3 separate regions of the Homo sapiens genome follow, and regions 1 and 2 are each linked to region 3. Evidence: promoter capture Hi-C in human tissues and cell types (Jung and others, 2019). All regions are on one chromosome and are shown on one strand. The core of a region is centred on a gene start or on the middle of the fragment in contact, and the rest is flanking DNA. Distances in the headings are between cores, read along the strand shown. Region 1 has its middle 8.9 kb from the start of HAUS7. Region 2 overlaps CCNQ (cyclin Q). Region 3 holds the start of BCAP31 (B cell receptor associated protein 31).

Evidence for each region. Contacts are between HindIII fragments. The study calls those that stand out against the background at their distance.
Region 1: a contact is called between a fragment that was not itself captured here and the fragment with the promoter of BCAP31 in region 3, in 1 of the 25 tissues and cell types used here (pancreas).
Region 2: a fragment that was not itself captured here is called in contact with the fragment with the promoter of BCAP31 in region 3 in 1 of the 25 tissues and cell types used here (IMR-90 fibroblasts).

What each region holds. Positions count from the first base shown.
Region 1 is chrX:153,477,701-153,481,169 of GRCh38, reverse strand. It overlaps a transcript of HAUS7 not described here and the pseudogene ECMXP. Among named protein-coding and RNA genes, the nearest start is that of HAUS7, 8.9 kb to the right of the region's middle. RefSeq lists an enhancer at 3,459-3,469. The HindIII fragment of the contact is 3,794 bases long and covers 247-3,469 here.
Region 2 is chrX:153,593,338-153,596,727 of GRCh38, reverse strand. It overlaps CCNQ (cyclin Q), which reads left to right. Exons shown (of 5, transcript NM_152274.5): 2 at 541-724; 3 at 2,049-2,181. Among named protein-coding and RNA genes, the nearest start is that of CCNQ, 4.1 kb to the left of the region's middle. The HindIII fragment of the contact is 4,557 bases long and covers 1-3,390 here.
Region 3 is chrX:153,722,459-153,725,636 of GRCh38, reverse strand. It overlaps BCAP31 (B cell receptor associated protein 31), which reads left to right and starts at 1,250. Exons shown (of 8, transcript NM_001256447.2): 1 at 1,250-1,303; 2 at 2,349-2,484. The coding sequence starts at 2,393. ABCD1 (ATP binding cassette subfamily D member 1) reads right to left here and starts at 781. Exons shown (of 10, transcript NM_000033.4): 1 at 1-781. The coding sequence starts at 370. RefSeq lists an enhancer at 1-161 and silencers at 622-1,581, 1,792-1,971. The HindIII fragment of the contact is 13,330 bases long and covers 1-3,178 here.

The DNA.
Region 1 (3,469 bases), core at 894-3,393, 250 kb after region 3:
ACGTGACTTTGGAGGGCTTCCCTCCCACCCCACACACGAGGGCACTTGGCTTGGAAACACCGGGAACGGGGCAGTGCCTGGGTGGCCAAACTCATGCGTGGTCCTGTCAGCCCCAGCAGGCCCCAGGCCCCACCTGAAGGCCGCCTGTCCTGGCCAGTTCTCACCTTTGGGGGGCCTCCTGGGTTTCAGGCCCCTTCCCTTGTCTTCCCGGCCTCCTGTCCTCTGGCCCTGGTCCTCCTCGGTGACTGCTGCCCCCTCTTGAGCTTGAGGGTCCCTGCCGGCCTGCCAGGGCCTCAGCTTCAAGGCCTCGGGCTTCCCTGCCCCAGCCCTCATGGCAGCTGTGGCCTGGGGCTGAGCCCACTCAGCGACCAGGCCCTTGTTGTGACCCTGCTCCTGCTCCAAGGTCACTGGGGGTGACTCCTTCCTCAGGGCCAGCCCTGGCCTGGGAAGCGCTTTCCAGCCAGTGGAGGGGGACTGGGTGGGGGTTCCTTGAGCTCCCTGCTTCGGGGTGGGCTGATCCCGCAACTGGTCCAGCTTCCCAGCCTCAGGCTTGTCTGGGTGGCCGATGCCAGGGATGGGCTGCAGCTGACCTGCGGAAGGAGCCAGTGTGGGCTGGGGGCCTTGCCTCCTTTCCCCAAGGGGCTGTCAGCTGCTAGAAAGCCCATCGCCCTTCCTCTTTACCCAGGCCTCCCCCCGCCCCGCCTTTCCCTTACCTCCTGAGGAGCACTGGCGAGAGAACAGAGTGTCCCCACCGTCAGCAGCAGGCCACCAGCCCCTGGGGCCAGTAACCCAGAGTACCTCTCAGAACTTACACAGCTCCTCACTGCTGGGGAGGGGGGTGGGTGGCGCTCTAGGCCCATTAGGGCTAAGGGGCTGGGCCTATAGGTTAGGCCCAGGGGTTGGACCGGTGGTTGGGCCCAGGGAGCTTCAGCAGCCCTGGGTAGAAAGCCTTGGGCTGCTCAAGGGACCTTGGGTCCCACCTCCCCTCACTTCCCCAGTGTGTCCCAAGGGTGGGGGGTAGGGCGTTTCCCCAGCATCCCCTTTGCCCCATACCCATTAGTGAGCAAGGACTTCACACGTGCTTCCTAGGGACAGCTTCTGGGGAGATGAAGGGGTCGCTGCGACCTGGCACAATTTGCTTTTAGAAGTGAAAGCCCCAGTGTCTGCTACAGGGGGTTTGTTGGGGATTAGGCAAGCCCAGGGGCCACCTCAAGGGGTCTGTGAGCCACTTTGGAGGAATGTTGATAACCCCAATGCCTCCTGTCCTCTATGGAGCAGCTCCTCCTTAACCAGGGCCAACCATGGGGGGCACCGCTCTGTCTGCAGGGGTGAGGGGCAGACCCACCCACCTGGCCCCTCCCGCCCTACCCCCAAGCCTGGGGCAGGGCCACCAAGTGTGGCTACAACCACTGGCCTATAAGACAAAGGCCACACTCATAGCCCATGTCCTCGGGCCCCTCAAGCCCCTCTCTGCCAGCAACCCCACTTCACCCCCAAGCCCTATACTCCCAGCCACCTGAGATTCTTCCTGTCTCAGGAGGCACTGGGGCAGCCAGAGCAACTCCTCCCCAGCACACCCCAGCCCGCTCTCAGCCTCACTGTAGCGCCCGCTCCTAGGAAGGCCTCTTCCCTCCCTCGCCCCTAGAGTCTGCGCACACCCCTCGCCCTCCAGGGAGGGCTCTCTCAGGGCCATGGGCCCTTTGCAGCCCTGCCTGAGTACCCAAAGTGGGCCTGAGGTGGACAGCCTGCGGCAGTCTTCTTCCTGCTGGTGCCAGCTACTCACCGTCGGGGGCCCCTGGTGGGCTGGGCAGCAGCTGCAGGGTAGCCAAGCCCATGGGGGTTGGTGGGGCCCCTCCTGAGCAGCTCCCCGCCCACAGTGCCAGGATGGGGAGCAGCACACTCCTCTTGGCTGCCATGGAGGGAAGGAGAGCTGGGAGAGGCACGGTGGTGGCCACGGCAGGACGATGGCGGACGGCACAAGTTGGTCTTGCTCCCTGAGCTCCTGGCCCTGGCTGCGGCACTTGGAGTCTTCCCTGCCCACCCCAGCCCTTCCCTGGGAAGGCCCCCCTTCTGTCGAGCAAACGCCTCCCCCGACCTTGCCCCCAACTCCCCACAACGTGCACTGCTCCCACCTGAAGAGAAAGACAGATTGCCCTTTCCTCAGACCGGACGGTCCTGCCCTTTTGCTGTGAGGCCCGCATTGATTCTCCGCTGGCTCTGGCCCAGTGGCCTCCATGAATGGGGCTTCTGTCTCACACGTGGCAGGCCTGAGAGGCCCACCACAGAGCGGGTCGGCCACCGCAGGCTGCTGGGCCCTGCATCCATGGCTGCGAAAGGAGAGGGGGTGGGTGCCAAGGCCGTGGGCTTCTGCCGTGGGCAGCACTGTGGAGGCCTCCGGGTTCCAGAGGAAATAGAATCTGTGGGCACAGTGCAGGCGGCGAGGGTATGCCTCCCGTGCCTGAGACCCCAGTGCTGCTTGGGCATGGGTGTGCCTCGGGCTGGGCTGGCTCCTGGTTCCTCTGCTTGCCCTCCAGGTCTCTACCTTCTCCTCTGTAAAATGGGGTAGGGGGCAGAGTTGACGTTCTGTGGCTGTCCCGACCCCCTACATAGGAGCATGGGTGTTCCAGGCACTGCCTGGGTGAAGCCATGTCACAGGTCCCCCCCAGACTTCTTGGCCAACAGTCTGGGATCTCTGATGTGCCTAGGCTGCACGCATCCTTTTGGTCAGAGGGGCACCTGTGGGTCAGGATGACATGAGGTGGAAAATAGGCTGGGCTCGATGAGGGGACTGCTGGGTGGGGCCAGAGGGGCGTGTGGTGGAGTGAGGGGCAAATAAGGGGGTGTCTGGCTCCAGTTCCTAGAGCCCGCCACCCTCAGAGGGCTGCCGGAAGTCCCTGCTCCAACTGGGGTGTCCCTGCAGCCCCAACCCCGCGTTCTGCTGTGGGAGCCAGGGTTTGTGGGAGCAGGCAGGCGGGGGCTGGCAGAGAGGACTGATCTCACCGCTGGCTCGGCTCTTCAGGGCCAGTATTGAGGAAGCTTTTCCTACAGCCCTGTCCAGCGTTGACTTAGGTTTGGAAGCGATCTTAAGAAATGAGTTAATTGTGGGCAAGGCTTGGGTGGAGGGGAGAAGGGAAGCAGTGGAGGAGGGGCAGGGGCCGGCAAGGGCCATCAGGCAGGAGTCTCCATCCTGGGGCAATGAGGCAATGTGTGAGATCCAGAGGGGTGCAGGGCTGGTCAAGGTGGGGAGGAGGCCTGGCAACTGGGTCTTCACTGGGCTCCTTGAGGAGCTGCCGCTCCAGCTAACAGTCCCGTAGGAGCCACATGGGGTCCTCTGCTATATCCAGGGTACCCTCGCCATCCAGGGCTCTGGTTTCTGACCTGAATTTGGACCCTGCCACGTACAGACCAGAAACAGGGACCATCTAGGGAGTCAGCAAATGCCTCTGGAGTCAGGGATGAGGCCACCATC
Region 2 (3,390 bases), core at 89-2,588, 130 kb after region 3:
TAACCTGTGGACTACGAAACCAGTGCTCAGTGTAATCTTTCACTGTGACTTCAGGACTTGTGGCACCCACGAGGCCGTTTCTTTTCTGTCGTCGTAGCTGTGGGGTGGGCGACTTCTAGCTAGCTGTTTGCTAAGGTGAACCCAGACACACAACAGCATATAGTCCTTTTCCAGGGTTTTGCAGAAGCTGCTATGCCAGTTGCTAACTGAGCGGTCCTCGGAACCCTTGTTTCCCAGAGCGTGGTCTATAGACCCCTGACATGGGCATGACCTGGGGCTTGTCAGAAGTGGAGAATCTCAGAGCCGCAGACCTACAAAAGGGGAAGTCTGCATTTGAACACCATCCCCAGGGGCTTGGGTCACCCACTAGAGTCTGAGAGCCCAGTAAGAGACCCAGCAGGAGCCACTGGCTCTGCTGGAAGTTCTTAGCCTTGTCCAAGTAGGGTTGTACCTGCTAGGGCCCATTCCAATGGCTCCCCTCACTGGAGCAGTGAGCCAGCGCTGGATTGAAGTCCTCTCTTGCCTGCTTTCTCTCCGCAGGTGTCAAGCTAGGGATGCGGTCCATTCCCATTGCCACTGCTTGCACCATTTACCATAAGTTCTTTTGCGAGACCAACCTGGACGCCTATGACCCTTACCTGATTGCCATGTCTTCAATTTACTTGGCCGGCAAAGTGGAAGAGCAGCACCTGCGGACTCGTGACATCATCAATGTGTCCAACAGGTAATGGCATTTGGCTGGGCTCCTGATCTCCACCCGGTGGGGGGGACGGGCAGGGAAGGCTCCTATGGGGCCCTGCCCACCAGGTGCCAGCAATGGAGCTTGGAAGGAAGTACCTGGATGGCCTTGAACCAGGCAGGGCCAGAAACAGTAGCAGCAAACGTGAGAAGGAGCCTGATGTCAGAGGCCAGTGGGGTCTGTGAGAGAAACGCTGGGCCAGATTATGGGGAGCCTCGAAAGCTGGATGGAGGGCAGAGGCGGGGCTTCAGCAGAGGGAGCTTGGAGAGGCATGTCAAAGAAGATTCTGTGGAAGTCTTAGACAGGGATGGCTGCAGGCAGAAGAGCTTGCCTGCAGCGGGAGGGTGCAGACCCAGCCAGGTGGTAGGTCCCAGTTGCTTAGGAGCCTCGCCCTGCTGTGGGTGTGGCGTGGGCATGGCACAGCCGGCCCAAGCAGGTGTGTTCCTGCTGGGGCAGAATGCAGGGTCTTCGCCAAGGCGAGGGAAAGACGGTCTGGGAAATACAAAACTGAGAAATGTTCACTTTTTGGAGTATATCATTCCCATGAGAGGCTTAAACATGTTCCTTGGATGGCTGGACGTGGTGGCTCACGCCTGTGATCCCAGCACTTTGGGAGGCCGAGGCGGGTGGATCGCTTGAGCCCAGGAGTTCAAGACCAGCCTGGTCAACATGGTGAAACCTCGTCTCTACCAAAAATACAAAAATTAGCCGGGCGTGGTGGCGCATGCCTGTGGTTCCAGCTGCTCGGGTAGCTGAGGCGGGAGGATCGCTTGAGCCCAGGAGGTCAAGGCTGCAGTGAGCTGTGGCTGCACCACTGTACTCCAGCCTGAAAGGCAGAGCAAGACCCTGTCTCAAAAAGTAAAAAGTAAAAATAAGTTAAAAAAATACGTTCCTTGGGCCCAGAGTGAGAGCCCCGGGCATTGCCACCTCAGGTGATGAAGACTCCCTAATGCCGGGCTGAGTATAACAGGAAGCACAACCGACTTGGCATGCTCAAGCTTCCGGTTCCTCTGGAGCCATCGCCAACAGCCAGTCTTTGCACTTGACATTTTGCTGAATGATAGCGGACAGCCCATCTGGCTAAAACTAGGAGCTGGCTTCTTTCCTCTGTTGGTTACTGTTTTCATTCTCTACACTAGATGTGGAGATGAAGAATTTTTGTATAAAAACCCAAATAAAATGACCCTCCATGAATCTGCAGATGGACGATGTAGTTTGCATCTGGACATTGTGTGACTTAAGCAATTTGAGCCATCCAGTGCTCAGGAGACTGCCCTGGCTGCTGAAGCATTGCCATTTCTCTGCGCAGGTACTTTAACCCAAGCGGTGAGCCCCTGGAATTGGACTCCCGCTTCTGGGAACTCCGGGACAGCATCGTGCAGTGTGAGCTTCTCATGCTGAGAGTTCTGCGCTTCCAGGTCTCCTTCCAGCATCCACACAAGGTACATACTGGGGAACTGGTGCCTGTTTGGAGAGGCTCAAGCCATGGTCTCTGTTCTTTATCCCAAAAGTGCATCCCATCTCATACTCGAGAGCACAGCACAGAAGGAGAGCAGGGCTGCGGCTGGGAACTGGGTCTCCTGGCTCTGTGTTTGTGGCTGGGTTGGCCGCCCGGCCTCTCCCGTCCCACCCCTGTGGGTTTTCTCAGCCAATTCTCATTTCAGCTTCTGCCTTTCTGCCTGCTCACCTGTGGGCGGGGTCCGTGCTGCCCGCTGAAGCTGTGGCAGCTCCTGTGGTCCATATAGATGGTGTGCACGCTGGGCCTCGGGGAAGCAGGCTGGTTTTGTGACCGGCCAGAGTCCCCGTCCCCAGGGGATGCTGTGATGCCTCGGAGCACGCCTCCAGCTCAGCTGTGCTTAGGAAGCCATGGGGAAAGCCAAATCGCTTGAGTCAAGCAGCATGCTTTAACTTCTAGGAATGTGTGAGTCTCAACAGAAGAACCATTTCAAACAGCAGTAAAAGGGAAAAGTGGAACGCTTAGGCGACTGGCACACGATGCTCTGGGCACCGCAGCTCCATGCACGGGCAGCTCAGAAGGCTGGCCGGAGACAGAGATGGAGGAGTTGTGGTTTGGGGCTCTGGGCTAGGAGTTTCATTCTTTTTCATCGGAACTCTTCCTGAGATCATTGTAGATTCCCATGCAGTTGTGACATGTACCCTTAGCCCAGTCTCCCCCAGGGGTAACACAGCCAGGATGCCAAAACCAACACAGTCCACTGGCATCCTCACTTCCACTTGTATTCCTGTGTGTATATTTTTCTGTTCCATTTTATCACGACTCCGTTCACGGACCTACCACCACAGCCAAGGTGAGAGACGGTTCCACCCGCATGGGCCCTTCGTGTTGCCTTTATAATCTTGCCTCCAGCCTTCCACACTCCCACCTCAGTACCTGGAAAGCCCTGGTCTGGGATTTCTGCGCAGTAGTGTCTTAGTGGGCAGAATGCTTGCTGAGCATCCTGGGGGAAGGTGGGAGATGCCCTGGTGGCTGCAGGGTGGAGTTGTCAAGGCGACAGGGCTTAGGAAAGAGCAGCACTCAGACCTCAAGGGGTGTGTGATCTGTGCCCAGATGGGGAACTGATAGCTTGGTGTGGCTGGGAGCCTGCCAGCCCCTTCCCCTCCTTCCAGTCAGGGCTGGGGTGGAAAGTAAC
Region 3 (3,178 bases), core at 1-2,500:
GGACGATGCAGCGGGCCAGCCTTCCGTCCAGGCGGGCCACATACACCGACAGGAAGGTGCGGCTCACCAAGGCGGCCGAGTGCAGGGCCAGCAGCCCCGTCTCCCGGCACAGGACCCGGGGGAACAGCAGCCGCAGGAGCCACAGGAGCCGCTGCAGGAATACCCGGTTCATGCCAGCTTTGGCCGCCGCGACCCCGGAGGCCTCCTGCGTGGGCTCCCCGGCGGGCGCCTGAAGACCCCTGGCCGGGGCCAGGCACTGGCGCACCAAGGGGTAGACTTTGTGGGCTCCATAGGCCGCGAGGGCCAGGAGCACGGCCGTGCGCTTCAGCGTGTTCCCCCGCCAGGGCCGGGGCCTGGAGAGCACCGGCATGTCACCTGGGCTGGCTGCCGCGTAGGGACTGGGGCTGGTGCCTGGGGCAGCAGTTGAGGCAGGTGGCTGGAAGGATTGTTGCTCTGACCCTGGGCCTGTTGTCTAGGCAACTGGAAACCTTGCGATGGCCCCTGAGACTGTCGCTTTAGGCCCCCGGGGTGGTGCTGGGGCCCCTGGTGCGGTGGGCTCAGGGCCCTCCAGGGTCGCGGCCTCTTCGGGCAGCCCAAGTGGAGGAACTTGGCTCTCCTGTCCTGTCAGTGCCCTGGCCCCTGAGGTCAGGGCCTTGAGAGGTCTCGGGCAGAGGGGGCGTCTCTTCCTCTCCACCTTCTCCTCCTCCTCCTCCCCCGGTGGCGCCCCTCCCCGGGGCACCAGGCGCGTCCGTCCGCTCCGCAGCCTGGCTGAAGCGACAGTGACTCCTCCACCGGCCCAGAATCCCCACCCACTCTTCCCCAGGGGCGAGTCGGGGGAAGGGGAGGAGGCGGAGGAGGGGCGAGGGGCGGAGTCCGGGCGCGGGAGCCCCACCCTGTTCTCGCCCCTCGGCGGGGCCCGCCCACACCCCCACCTCCCGTTCTCGCCCCTCGGCGGGGCCCCTCCCGCACCACAGAGACGTGGGACGGCCGCGCGGACTAGAGAAGCGGCCCTCGCCGGCCCGACAAAGCCCCGCCCCGCCCCGCCCGCGTGCTCGCTCCACCCCGCCCTGCTCGCCCGGAGCCCGAGGCGCCTCTTCCTCTCCCGCTCGGAGCGCCGGCCCTCCGCTCCGGGGCGGGGTGGGAAGCGGAGGTGGGCGGAGCCTCCGGGGCCTCGCGAGGGCTGGTGGGCGGTGCCCGGCGGGCGCTTCCGGTTTCCGGCCGCGGTATGAGGGGCGGGGCCGGGGCTGCTGTGGGAGAGTTCTGTTGCTGCGGCGGGGCCTGCACGTTGACTGTGGGAAACTCGGTGAGCGGGCTCCGCGCGCCGGGCTGGGCTCCGGGACCGCGGAGGCTCCCCGGCCCATCGACGAGGGAGAGAGGCGAGCGGCGCGGGGAGGCCCGGGGGCCGGGGAATCTCGGGGCCCGCAGCCTACCTGCGTGTGAGAGGCAGGGGCGAGGGGAAACCGGGCGGCGCCTCTAGAAGCTGGTCTCGGGGGCGGGGCGGGGGGCGGTGAAGCCCCACCTGGAGGAGCGGCCGGGATGGGCCTCCGGGACGGTGTGCCAGGCCGGGGCCAAGTCGGAGGCCCCTCGCTCTGGGTGGGCGCTGGGGCCCGCGAGGGCTACTGTAAGGACCCCTGGCTTCTGAGGATACTGCGTCTAGAACTTTCTCCGTATGGGGCCTTGAGGTGCTTGGTCGAGACCTGCCTTTGCGCTTGGTCCCGAATCCTGCCCTCTAGGAGTCGCTCTTGCGGGCCTCCAGCCCACCGGAGGCGAAGCGGCCCCGGGCGGAAGGCCGCTGGATCCTCGAGGGAGGTGCCGGTTTCTCTCCGCGGGCGCCGTGGGGACGGTGGGAGGCGGGGGCGTCGGCAGCGCTTGGACTAGGTGCGGCCTTGGGCCTGCCTGGTAGCGGGGATTTGGGCCCGCAGAGCGCCCGCCTCTGCGGCTGAGTTCTGCCTGGCGGGGAAGGGAGCGCCCGATGGGTGCCGAGGCGTCCTCCTCTTGGTGCCCTGGCACTGCTCTTCCCGAAGAACGCCTTTCAGTTAAACGGGCGTCGGAAATCTCGGGCTTCCTGGGGCAGGGATCGTCGGGAGAGGCCGCTCTGGACGTGTTGACACACGTGCTGGAGGGGGCAGGTAATTGACCAGCGAACGGAAGTTTGTGGGGCCTGTGAACGCTGCTGGCCAAGAGGCCCTGCCGAGTGGAGCCCTGCTTCCGCCAGCGCATCAGAGACTTTGAAGCAAAGTGCAGGGGGTCAGGGTGGAGAGTGGCGGCCCCAGCCTCGCAGGGTAACTGAACTGGATGTTCTTGGCTGCCCAGCGCTTACAAGTCCCGTACCTTTTGTGCCCTGCCAGGAAACAAGCTCACATCTTCCTGTGGGAAACCTTCTAGCAACAGGATGAGTCTGCAGTGGACTGCAGTTGCCACCTTCCTCTATGCGGAGGTCTTTGTTGTGTTGCTTCTCTGCATTCCCTTCATTTCTCCTAAAAGGTATGGCCTATGGAGCAAGCAGGCGAGTTAGGCAGGAGGGTGCCTGTGCCCTAGCCCTGGGACTGGTGTGTGCAGCTGGTGGACCCTGGAATTGGGACCCGATGGAACAGGTAGAACCTGTCTGGGGTGGGGGTGGCAGGGGTTGTGTTTGTTATTGCCAACCCTTCCCAGGGTTCTGCTTCGTCATGACTTGCTCAGTTCCTTTTCCTGTGTCCCCTGCCTTCTGGTCTTCAGAATGCCCCCGAGAGGCAGGAAGATCTATGTTACAGTTCTGGAAATGATGCCCTCCCACCCACTCTTGGTCCACGGGGTGCTGGGATGGTAGCGTGGGATTCGGAAGACTTGCACCACTGGGTCACGTTGTTGCTGATTTGGTGACTCTTGTCCTCCTAACTAGTCTCACTGGTATTGCGCAGTGGCTGCATGAACATTACTCAGCCTGTGGAGGATGAAGCCATATTCCCTTTTAATGAACAGAGGACCTGTTAAAAGTGAATTGGAGATTAATTTTAATTATGTATAATACCTGAACACATCCCTATTTAAATTACGATATTACAAATAAGGCCAAATCTCCACAGGTATTTTTAAAAGCCGTTTTTTCGTGAAAAATTATCTTTGATGTGATACCATAGAAAGTATGCAGTGCTGTCTGAGGAGGATTCTTGTAGAAAACCACACCTTCGTACAGTTG